Regions from separate parts of the Homo sapiens genome. Here region 2 is linked to region 1. Evidence: promoter capture Hi-C in human tissues and cell types (Jung and others, 2019). All regions are on one chromosome and are shown on one strand. Each heading gives the region's core, a stretch centred on a gene start or on the middle of the fragment in contact. The rest is flanking DNA. Distances are from core to core; before and after follow the strand shown.

What was found. Contacts are between HindIII fragments. The study calls those that stand out against the background at their distance.
Region 2: a contact is called between a fragment that was not itself captured here and the fragment with the promoter of GULP1 in region 1, in 1 of the 25 tissues and cell types used here (aorta).

What each region holds. Positions count from the first base shown.
Region 1 is chr2:188,289,505-188,296,042 of GRCh38, reverse strand. GULP1 (GULP PTB domain containing engulfment adaptor 1) reads right to left here and starts at 4,169. Exons shown (of 12, transcript NM_016315.4): 1 at 3,877-4,169. RefSeq lists an enhancer at 1,434-2,317. The HindIII fragment of the contact is 13,352 bases long and covers 1-6,538 here.
Region 2 is chr2:187,994,126-188,000,246 of GRCh38, reverse strand. No RefSeq gene overlaps it. Among named protein-coding and RNA genes, the nearest start is that of LINC01090, 290 kb to the left of the region's middle. The HindIII fragment of the contact is 5,266 bases long and covers 1,230-6,121 here.

The DNA of each region.
Region 1 (6,538 bases), core at 2,920-5,419:
TATACTGAAATAAAATAACTTTTTTTATTCTTTAGAGGTTTTAGAAAACAAATTGCAATATCGCGAATTGAATCACAAATACATCACTCTGCTAAGTAAAATTTAAATTAAAATCACCTACCATTCATCAATGGAAATAAGAATTTTAAGGATTTCTAATTTAAAATGAAAGGTAAAATTTGACATTTTATATTAAAATTACCCTAATATATCCTCAAACAGCCACTTGTTCAAGGATACCCATAGTGTAAGTTTCAACCCAACTACTATATCCCATATACACGTGCTTTTTACAGATTCACTATTAATTATAATATAAAGTCTAAAAATAAAAGCTATGACTAGGTATTTTAGCAAAAGACTTTATCCTTTAAACAATTTATCTATACTTATTCTGTTTTCTCTAATAAGTTGATCTGTTCACCCGAAAAAGAGTTAAGTTAAACATCCATGACTGTAGCACAGTACAATGAACCATAAAAATATGTAGTATATTTTACTAATTGACATGTCACACTAAAAAGTAAATATTTCACAATGATCATAATGAATCAACAATGAACAGGCTCATAAATTATAGACAGAAACATAGGCAATAAATGATATGTTGGAAAAATGTTTAAGAAGTAAAATAACATGCACAGAAATCACAGAGCTGAGAAGTTCGGTGCTGATTGGAATACAGGCCCGATGATGCATGATATGCATGCAACAAACATTGGCTGGATTTATTAATGAATGGCTCCAAAATCTATCCTCCAAATTCTTAAGGAAATTGTTGTGGCCATTAAGAAAAGAAAGTCTGTTTGTATGTCATAAATATATTTCAGCTTCTCAAGCATTATTTCTGAGAAGAGAGCCAAGTTCTGTGAATATACTTGGTAACTTCTCATAAAGGTAAAATTAAGCTGGACTTTAAAAATAACTGGTCTTGTGTATAAATATAAACTGAAATAAAAATAAATGAATGTGCTAATTGTTCTTTTCTGTTTGAGAAAATGACTCAGCCTTAACCATAACAAAATCTCCCTTATATCCTCAAAAATTAAAATGTATGATTAAATTAAAGCTATGATTAAAATGTAAAAGTGGTAATTTTTATAAATTAGATCCAGATATGTCATTATTACATGGGTATTCAACATAGAAGTATTCCTATTTTATCCCCATAAACTCAACTGAGTCAGCTGAGTCAGAAATCCTATGACCTTTATGTCGAAAAGCCTATTAACATTATTTCATCTCTTTAATTCTCACAATAATCTTGTAATTATGTAAAGGAAAGTTTCTTTACTTTGCAAGTGGAAAAACTGAAATCATAGTCAGGGAAAACATTTGGCTGAGGGTGATTCACAAAGTGAGTCTCAGAAAGCAGGCTAATATTCACAATCTCAAACTCTTAAATACAGAGGAAATATAAACCACATTAGTTTGTTTGTTTGTTTGTTTGTTTTAACCATTTAACCCCTAAGCCCACAATAGTAAACCTACAACCCACCTCTCTGAAGAAAAAAAAAAGAGAGATGAAACATACACAACTTTAATACACAAAGAAGAGTCTGAATTGCAGTTAAGGCTTTGAGTTCCTAGCTGGTTTGGAATTAGGAAGCAGTAAAGGGCAAATGTGTGAAATACTGAGATCATCTCACCTTTTACTTCTTTACATGAAAGAGCAAGATCTGTTTATCAGGATCACTTTTGATAAGCACAAAGAAGTCATGCCGGATACGTTTCTACTTTAATTCCATGACCCAAATCCATGCTAGCTGAGAATACGTAATTGAATTATTCAATTTAGGTAGAAAACCATCTGCTCAAACCCTTAAGTCTTCAATTCTTGCTGCTATGAAAACAAAGTAAGGCCGAAGTCAAGGAATTGAAGTTGCAGCAAACCTCGTCCAAGGAGACAAACAGCAACAAAGTGTGGGCATTTGCAAAGTATGATCAGCACAAACAGCATCAGGCCCCCAGCTATTCCACTGCAACACTGATAAGGAAAGTTCAGACTTTGCTCCTGGAGCCCTTTTTGTAATTTCCTCGGTCATATCCAACTGCACTCTATGCTTAGTTTATTTTTTTGCCAAGAAGACTGATCTTAGCCACCTAAAAATTCTCATTGCAAAAGAAACCTCTTGTTTAAACCCCAAGTGCAACCGACAGCCCCTTTCCAATTAGCCCCTGCAACTTGCCCAGTCTCTTTCATGCCTGGCTACTGAGCTCAGTCTAGTTTGGCTGCCGGCCAGGTTCCTCTCTTTTTTTCCTTGTCAGTCGTAAAAACTTGGAAAACACTCCTGGACAGCTCAAGGAGACCTTTAATTATGCAGTGGGGCAGTACCTTAGCCTGTCTGCTGTTTCCAGCAAAGCCTGTAGTCACCAGCGACTGCACTCTCCCAATTTGTGGGTTTTCCAGCCAAGGCTACTTGTTCATATGGGGGGAAAAGGGAAAGACTGGCAGAGAAAGGGAGCAATTTGCAAATTTGAAGAATTTCCAATTCCTCTGAAAGTTTTCCACTTCCTCACATTCACTCTGTCTAATAATCTCCCTTACTTTAGCACCTAATCACCCATTTTGTAATACAGACACAAAATCATCAGTATTGTCTCCTGCTAGTCCTAGAAATCAGTCATGACTTGAACATTCTCCGTAACTTTTTATTCTCAAATGTTGGTGTAACGTATTTTAAAAGCAGGCACAAAATAAATTTATTAAATCCTTCCTAATTGACTGCATTACACTTTGTCAAACTTGCAGATTGAAATAGTGCATGTAAAATGTCTGATTGCAAATGAGTAAGGCGAGCTCAGTTGGGAAACACTACTAGGACCTAGGGAGGGGTACCTTGACTGCCAGCCCTCACTTACTTGGAGTTTGCCCAGCGTACCAAGTGGACCCGCCAAGCCCAACACCAGCTAAGTCTTCCTTACTCTACCTTGGCACGCTAGTTCCAGCTGCAGCGTCCAGCTTCCTGTTCAAGTCCCATTCAACATCGTAAACACATTCCAAGAAAACCAGCCTGCCCAGAGTTCCCTCCCGCACACAGGGAAGTCAGCGCGGCAGCCGCAGGAGCCTCAGAATAGAGAGAACTGCCTGCTCCGGATTCTGATCCGTGTGGCGAGTGAGGCCACGAGAAGGTGGACCCGGCCAAGCGAATTTAGCAGTCGGAGCGAGAACCCAAGGGCTCATCACCCCCGCCGCGCCTTGCGCCCTCCAGAAGAAGCTACTTGACCCGCGCAGCAGAAGGGTAACCATGTGGACGCCGCCCCTTCCTTTGGGCCCTCCCAGCTCTGAGCTTTAAAGTATCCGCGGCCCGGCCTCGGAGCTTCGCGCCTCCCCACCCCCATGCCCACATTCTCTCCCAGCGCCAACAAAAGGGAGGCTGCCCTGGAAGTTCGCTCCTGGGTCGCCTCGCTGTGACCCGACGATGACTTGCCTGCTCAGCCCAGTCTGATCCACGCACCCTCAGCCGGACGGATCCACGGTTTCCCCACCGCCTCCCTCCAGTTCCTGCTCACCGGCCCCCCGCCGCCGGACCAAAGTTACCACAAAAGGCTAAGGAGGTTTCTGGAGCCCGGAGACCGCTGCGTCCCCGACCTCGCTGGACTCCCCCAGTCATTTCTCAAGCGCTGCCATAGCAGGCGTCAACAGGTCTTAGCCTCCTTTAGTGCTGGACGACTCCCTGAGCATTTAGCTGTCCTAATTTTTTACAACCTGCTGGCCAGCGGCTACGCGCAGCCCCGCGCCCTCCTTCCCGGGCACTGGTGGCCGGAGCTGTCCACCCCCACCGCCCCTCGGGATATCAGCTTCTAAGCGATTCCACGCTACCTGGAGGGAGCCTGGGTTCGCAGCCAGGGAAGAGCCTAGATAAATCTCCGTACCTCACTGAGAGAGGCAGTCGGGTCAGGCTTCGGGCAGGGGCGTGGAGAGCTGCCGGTTCCTCCGAGCCTGGCGATCTCCACTCCGGCACGGCCGGGGCGCCGTCTCCGAGGCCGAGAGGGAAAGTTTCTCTACGCCAACACGGCGCTGGACTCGGGACCCTCCAGCTTCGGTCCCCTCCCTCTTCGCGCTCTCTCCCCCCTCCCTCCTCTTCCTAATCCGCCGAATCCAAAACTGGCGCTGGCGGCAGCTGGGACGCGGGGCTGGGGACTCCGGGTCGCTCCCGGCCGGGAACGCCGGGCTCCCCCTCTCGGTGAGAAGGAAACTCTAGCCGACTCCGGCTTGCGCACTTCTGGCGGTCTCCTTGGACATTTCCACACGGGACGCCTGTGTTCAAGCTCGCTGACTTTCCTTCTTTAATCTCTGATGGTCGTTATCTGTGGGCCCACTGGACTATCTCGCGCGTGCACGCGGAACCGGAGGTGGGTGGAGGGTGGAATGAGAGAGAAACCCATCCGCAGAAGGAGGGGCCCTACCTTACTCAGTCTTCAGCCCGGACAGAAGCAAAACCACAGGCCCCCTCTCCCACCCCACTCGCGCCGCGTTTCCTTTCCAGCCTCTTCCCTGAGACACTAGATCAGGACCATTTGCCTTTTCTTATCTCTGTGTGTTTCCTAACACAATTTTAAAACACCTCTGAGGCTTCATAGAGGGGTAAAGTGTCAAAAGAAATACACGAATAAGAGTAAAACGTGCCGTCTTCACAGCCTTTATCAAGAAAGCAGCCACAGTTGCTGCTGCTCTGGCCGCACCTCAGCGGACTGGTTTGTCCTCATTGGTTTGTCCTCATTTGTTTTTTAACTCGGCCTTAATCTCTGGACTTTGTTATGCCTTAAAACAGACACACACATACACACACTTGAAAATTGCCTTAACCCCCAGATCATACTCATTTGTTCCATTCAGATGTTTACCTCGGAATTAAGGACTTCTGTATAGGATTTGAGAGAAAACACAACAGCCCATTCTTACTGACCTTTGGTAAAGTTCTGCGTGGGAAAGGGAGCAAGAAGGAGTATCCTTATATAAGAAGTTCTTCAAGGATGAGAGGACCTTTACTAAAATTTTTTCTGCTGCTCAGAATTTAGTTTACTAAATTTTAGTTTGAGTGTGAAAATAGATGAGAAAAGGAAAAAGGCATTTTGCAAAGCTAGCAGTTATAATGTATTACAGTGGATCCAGGGCTTAGAGTCAGACAGGCCAGATTCCATTCCAAACTCCATCTTTACGCTTTCTGTGCCTACCAATTATAACTGTCAACAGGAATTCTATAATCTAGCTCACGGAGTCACAGTCACATTTACAGGAGTTAAAATAGAGTTGTGATAGGCGCAGAGAAAATACTCAATAAATATTTGGTTCTTATATCCCACCATGTTTTACTGTAATTAGGAGAGAGGGTGGTGCTAGAAATTTTCCCCCAAAGACCCTGTAACTGAATCAGTTTTCTTCTCCTTAATGCTTTTTCCATTTAAAAAGGCATCATTTCACAATTTTTGAAATGGAAACTATGTTTACAGATTAACTAGTTCCAGCTGAACTCCCTTATTTTAAATACAAGGTAACTGAAGTCTAGGGCTCTTAAGTGACTTTCCCCAAATCTCATGGTTTGGAGGTACTAAAGCTAATATCAGAAATCAGTCCTCATAATAACTTGGCTGGGGTCCTCTTTTAACTGTTTTTCTCTTTATCACAATAGTCAAGCACACATAAAAATAATTATATTAAAAATATTAATCTCAGGACAAATGCTAGTTTTTTTCTGTAAATAACTCTTAAGCAATTAATTTATGAACAATCATTAAAAATTAAATAATGTCATTTAGATGATCACTTGGTATCAATGTGATTATAAAAATAAAACAAATGGTAGTCCAGTATTTAGGAATAAGGAGGTTGATGAGATGAACGAATCCATGCTTACATTATATATTTACACATAGATATTTTGGGTTTTTTAGCCATAATATTAAAAGATTATAATAACTCTCGATTCCCAAGAATACATCAACATACCACTACAGTTGGCTGACCCTAGTTTGTGAACAACTAGATCAGTGTTCAGGACACACAATTCAACTTGAACAAGTTCAAGGCCAAAGAACAAAATCAGGCTACAGAGATCAAACTTTCCATCCTGTGAAATAATGGAAAATCCCATAGCATGTACTTATTTCTCATTCATTTGCCTCTAGTACCTGTAAGAAGGTCTTTTTAAAAAATTCTTCCTTACCATATACAATGTTGAAAATCATCTGAACATTTACATAACTAACTCCCATGTTCTCAGGGATGAGACCCTATATACTCCTTCTAAGTAAGAGTTATTTACTACTCCGGCCTCATCCTCAGTTTCCTAAAGGCATATCATAGCCTCTTTAGAGATCTGTCTTTCCTATCCATAAGACTTGGAAGATCCTAAAGAGGGAAAAAAAAATATGGCTACAAAGCACATCCATCATGAATGGATAAATGAAGATAGATGAGTCCTCATAACTGTCTTTTTCCAATCGTTACATACAGTGCTAAAGATTACTCACTTTTATATTTTCTCCCACTGTTTAAAGTCTTTAAACTTGCTATTGCTTTGTAATTTTTATAACC
Region 2 (6,121 bases), core at 2,613-5,112, 300 kb after region 1:
GAAATAGTTTGACTTTCTTTTTTCCAATTTGGATGCCCTTTATTTCTTTCTCTCGCCCAATTGCTCTGGCTGAGACTTCCAGTACAGTGGTGAATAGAAGAGGTGGAAGTGGGCATCCTGTGTTGTTCCAGTTCTTAGGGGTAACACTTTCAACTTTTCCTCATTCATTGCGATGTTGGCTGTGAATCTGTCATATGTTGCTTTCATTATTTTAGGTATATTCCTTCTATGACTAGTTTTTTGTGCGTTTTTCATAAAGCAATGGTAGAAATTACTGAATGTTTTTTCTGCATTTATTGAGATGATCACATGGTTTTTGTTTGTAATTCTGCTTATGTGATGAATCACATTTATTGACTTGCATATGTTGAACCATCCCCACATCCCTGGGATGACACCGACTTGATCTTGGTGAATTATCTTTGCAATATGCTGTTGGATTCAGTTTGCTAGTATTTTGTTGAGGATTTTTGTATCTATGTTCGTCAAGGATATTAGTGTGTAGTTTTCTTTTTTTGTTATGCCCTTTTCTGGCTTTAGTATCATGGTGATACTGGCTTCATACAAAATTAGGGAGGATTCTCTCCTTTCTCAGTCTTTTGTAATAGTTTTAGTAGAATTGGTACCAATTTTTCTTTGAATGTCTGGTTTAATTTGGCTGTGAATCAGTCTGTTTTTGTTGGCAAGTTTTTTATTATTGATTCAATATCATTGCTTTTTACTGGTCTGTTCAGGATTCCTATTTCTTCCTGATTCAAGCTAGGAGGAGTGTATGTTTCCAGGAATTTATCCATTTCCTCTAGATTTTCTAGTTTTGGGCATAGAGGTGTTCGCAGTAGTCTCAAATGAGCTTTTGCATTTCTGCAGTGTCAGTTGTAATGTCTCCATTTTCATTTCTATTGAGCTTATTTGAATCTTTTTTTGGTTAATGTATCCAGTGGTCTATTGATTTTGTTTATCTTTTCAAAAAACCAACTTTTCATTTCATTGGTCTTTTGTATTTTTTTTTGTTTTCAATTTTATTTAGTTTTGCTCTGATCTTTGTTATTATTTTCTTCTGCTAGATTTGGGTTTAGTTTGTTCTGTTCTTCTAGTTCCTTGAGGCGTGAGGTTAGGTTGTTAATTTGTTGTCTTTCAGGCTTTTTGATGTAGGCATTAGCACTAACCACTTTCCTCTTTTCACTGCTTTTGCTGTAATCCAGAAGTTTTGATAATTTGTATCACTGTTTGTTATCACATATTTCAAAGAATTTTAAAATGTCCATCCTGATTTCATGTTAACCCAAAAATCATTCAGGAGCATATTGCTTAATTTCTATGTATTTGTATAGTTTTGATGGGTTCTTTTGGAATTAATTTCTAGTTTTATTCTGTTGTTGTCTGAGAAGATACTTGACATAATTTTGATTTTAAAAATTTATTAAGTCTTTTTTTGTAGCCTGTGATATAGTCTATCTTGGAGAATGCTTTATGTGCTGATGAAAAGAAGGTATATTCTGCAGTTCTTGGATAGAATATTTTGTAAATATCTGTTAGGTCTATTTGCTCTAGAATATAGTTTAAATCCAGTGTCTCTGTTTACTTTTTCCCTCAATGATCTGTCTATTGCTGTCAGTGGAGTGTTGAAGTCCCGCACTGTTACTGTGTTCTTTTTTGTCTCTTTTCTTAGGTCTAGTAGTAATTGTTTTATAAATTTGGGAGCTCCGTAATTAGATGCATATATATTTAGGATTGTTATACCTTCTTGTTGAATTGATCTTTTTGTATCATTAGATAATTACCTTCTTTGTCTTTTTTTTTTTTTTTTTACTGTTGTTGCTTTAAAGTCCGTTTTATCTGATGTAATCATAGCTACTCCTGCTTTGGTTTCCATTTGTATGGAATCTCTTTTTCCATCCCTTTACCTTGAGTCTATAAAATTTCTTACCAGTCAGATGTGTGTTTTGAAGACAGTAGATATTTGGTTTGTGATTTTTTTTTTTATCCATTCTGCCAATCTGTATTTTTTAAGGGGAGCATTTAGGCTATTTACATTCAATGTTAATATTGAGAAGTAAGTTACTGTGACAGTCAACATGTTGATTGTTACCTAGTTACTTTGTTTCCTTCATTGTGTTATTGTTTTATAAGCCCTGTGAATATTATGCTTTTAAGAGTTTCTATTCTGGTGCATATCAATATTTTGTTTCAAGATTTAGAACTCCTTTTAGCATTGCTTGTAGGGCTGATCTGGTAGTGACAAACTCCCTCAGCATTTGCTTATCTGAAAAAGTGTTTATTTCTCCTTCATTTATGTAACTTAATTTTGGAGGATACAAAATTCTTGGCTATTTTTCTGTTTAAGGAGACTAAAGATAGGACCTCAATCCCTATTAGCTTATAAGGTTTCTGCTGAAAAGTCTGCTCTGAGTCTGATAGGTTTTATTTTATTGGTTACCTGATGCTTCTGTCTCATGTCGCTTAGAATTCTTTCTTTCACATTGACTTTAAATAATCTGATAACTGTATGCCTCGGTGATGTCTTTTTTGCAATGAACTGCCAGGAGTTCTTTGAGTTTCATTTATTTGAGCCATGAAAGTTTCCCTCAATTATTTTCTCAAATAAGTTCTCCAAATGTTTTGCTTTTCCTTCTCCCTCAAGAGCACCAGTGATTCTTAGGTTTGGCCATTTTACATAATCTCATATTTCTTGAAGGCTTTGTTAATATTTTTCTTAATTCTTTTTTCCTAATTTTGGTCTGCTTGGGTTAATTTGAAAGCCTTGTCTTTGAGCTCTGAAATTCTTTCTTCTACTTGATCTAGTCTATTGTTGAAACTTTCCGCTGCATTCTGGGATTCCCTAAGTGTTTCTTTGATTGCCAGAAGTTCTGGTTGGTTTTTCTTTAAAATATCTATCTCTTTAGAAACTTTTTCATTCATATTCTGAATCATTTTTAAAAATTTGTTTATGTTGGTGTCTACCTTTCTCCTGTATCTCCTTGAGTAACTTAATGATCAACCTTTTGATTTCTTTATCTAGTATTGCAAAGAGCTCATCTTGGTTTGGATCCATTGCTGGAGAGCTACTGTGATCTTTTGGGGATGTCATAGAACCCTGCCTTGTCATATTGCCAGAATTCTTTTTCTGGTTTCTTCTTACTTCTTCCAAATATTTTTGAATTTATATTTGATAATTGTATTTTTTAATTTTTTTCCCTTTGAGAATATAACTTTAATGATTATGGTTTATTGTAACATAATTTGCCTCTGAGTGCTTTCAATAATGAAGACTGCATATGAAATCTTTGGTTACAGACAGTCTATGTATAATGGCTTTCTCCAGTGATGGTTGTAGTAGCAGTATACTTGGTGTGTGAAACAGGTTCACTGTCTTCCATGGGACCAGAATAACAGAGGTCTCATGAAGCTTATCTTATTTCCCAGTGGTGTGAAATTCATTCATTCATTCACTCATTCATACATTCATTCATTCATTCATTCTTCCAGTATTCTACTCACTGGGTTGAACAGTTCAAGTTTCGGCCCAGTAAGAAGTGTCTGTAGGTAAAAACTGCTTGCAGCTGAAGCAAGTGGATAAACACAATACCCCAATTGTGGGCAGAGGTCCCAGCCTTGACAGAAACAGCCAGGAGAGTTCTCAGTTAAACACACTGAGGTCTTTACAGGGAGAAGAGAGGGAGCCATCTCAGCTCCCCTACCACACCAGAAGGAAAGCTTTCCACCTCACAGTCACACTTCTGACCCAGTGTTCTGGTTATTCAGATGAGACAGGCACCTCTTTTCAGCTGCAGGAATGCTGATGTTTGGTGTAGAGAGAGATTGTGACTCTACTCCTCATGCAAGCCTGAACCTAGAGTACACTCCTCCTGTGGGGATGTAGTCACCCTGAAGTGTTCCAGAGAGTCTGTCTATGGGTGCACCTATGTCAAAACTCTGTGTGTCTGCAGTGGTGAGTGAGGAGGAGAATAAATTCCCTTCTTCAAAACCCTTCATGAGTACCAGGGCTGCCTGACCACTGGAGATACAGTCATAGACTTTCCCCACTAGGCCCACCAGCACACCTGTGTCTCTGCTGAAAGAAATTTTCCACAAGCGTAAAGTTAGGAAACTCAAGGTCTGCAGTCTGAATTATTTTGTCTCACAAGGTACTCCTTTGATGAGGTGCACCCCCCCTTCCCTTAGGAGTAGGGGATCTGATGATACGGCTCTGATGAGTGGAGGAACACCAGGGCTCTTGTCTCATGCCGAATTAGATAAGGCCACACGGACACACGTGGAGTGGTTTTAAGGAGTAGAGAGTTTAATAGGCAAGAAGGGAGGGAGAAGAAAGAAGGAAGAAGCTCCCCTGTACAGAGACATAAGGAGGAGGGCTCCAAGGCTGAGAGGAGACTCCCTGTGCCACGGAAAAGTGGCTGCTTATATGAGTAGGCTGGAGGAGGTGGTATCTGATTTGCATAGGGCTCTGGGGATTGGTTTGACCAGGCATGTCACTCATGTAGTGCGCGAAAAACCTCGCTCTCACACCCTAGCCTTCTAGTATGCAAATGTGGGGCACCATGATGTTCTACACGTATAGAGATATGTCAGGGTGGCCATGTTGCCAGGCACTTGTGGGGGCAAGGGCAGGGAGAAGAGCATGGGAATTGCCATGTTTTGGTGGACCGAGTTTCTAATGCCCAGCATTTGCATATCAAAGCTTGCTGCCAGGCTCTAAGATCTGGGGCTTTCCTGCTAAACAAGAAACATTTCTGGAGCTGCTTTAAAAGAGACAAAAACTTTCCAAGGACCCCTTTTCCTCTCTATCTGCCTAAAATAATTTCTTAATAACTCCTGTCACACTAAGGGACAGACTACTGTGAATCTTGCTGCTCCTCTGGGTCTTGCTACCCAGTGAAGCTGCCACACTTTAGGCTGGGAATTTCTGCAAGGAATCCAGTGATGTGACTTGTTCTCTAATCTCCCAGCACTGAGTACCAGCGCCAGCTCTGATGAGGGTGGCAGGTGAGTGACACAGACTCTGTGAAATTTCCTTGGTTATAAATAGCCTTAGTATATTGGCTTTCTCAAATGCTAGTTGTAGTAGTAATGAGCTGGTTGTATGGACAGACTCAAGACTTCCTGATTAGCCAGGGTGATGCAGGCAGTGTTGATAGCTGAGGTCATGCAAAAGCTTCCTCCCTTCTTGGTACTGTGTCATTCTGCCTGCAGATGCTATAATGAACTGTGCTGGTTGGCTTCCAGCCAGGAGATGGCACTTGCAAAAGAGCACCAGCTGTGGTAGTAGCATTAGGATTTGTGCTTGCCCTATGTTACACACGGGAGGTACTCTGGTGTCTCAGGCAATGGGTGGGGCCATAGAGCTTCAAAAAGTCCCTGTCCTTTGTGTTAAGCTACTGTGATGAGTGGAGGGGCAAAGCCAGGTGGGGGTTGGGTTAGGCAAGTTCATATTCTGGCTTCACACATGCAGGAGCAAGCAGAGGCCCCAGTGGCATCAGAGGGCAGTTCTCTGGCTACTGAGATAATGTTCCAAGGAGGAGCGCCGCTGCCTCTGCTGCACAAAAGAATCCTCATGTGGAATGGAGGGTAGCAGGCAGCAGTAAGCTCCACCCAGCTCCTATGCACTTGGTGAGTGCATAGTGCTAATGGAACCCACAGTGATCCACTAGCAGCAGCTAGCTGGGGTCCAGGCAGCCTGTGCTTAGAACCCCAAGCTGCCCCAGGCCACGAGGCTTCCTCATTGAAACAGAAATCATGGCTCTTGGGCCACACCACTTCCCTTATGCCCCTGAAGCACGGTGCCCAGATCCCTCACTGTGGCTATATATTGCACACTTCACACTTGCTCCTTGGTTTTGGCTAAGGGGGTTAGCCCCCATTCAAGATTATATCATGAATCTCAGTTGGGAGCTTCTCTCACTAACTTTTTTTTTTTTGAGACAGAGTTCACTGCAACCTCTGCCTCCAAGTTCAAGTGATCCTCCCACCTCAGCCTCCCAAGTAGTTGGGACTACAGGCACTTACTAGAACACCCAGATAATTTTTGTATTTTTTTTTTTTTTTTTTGGTAGAGACAGGGTTTTGCCGCATTGCCAAGGCTGAACTCCTGAATTCAAGCATCAGC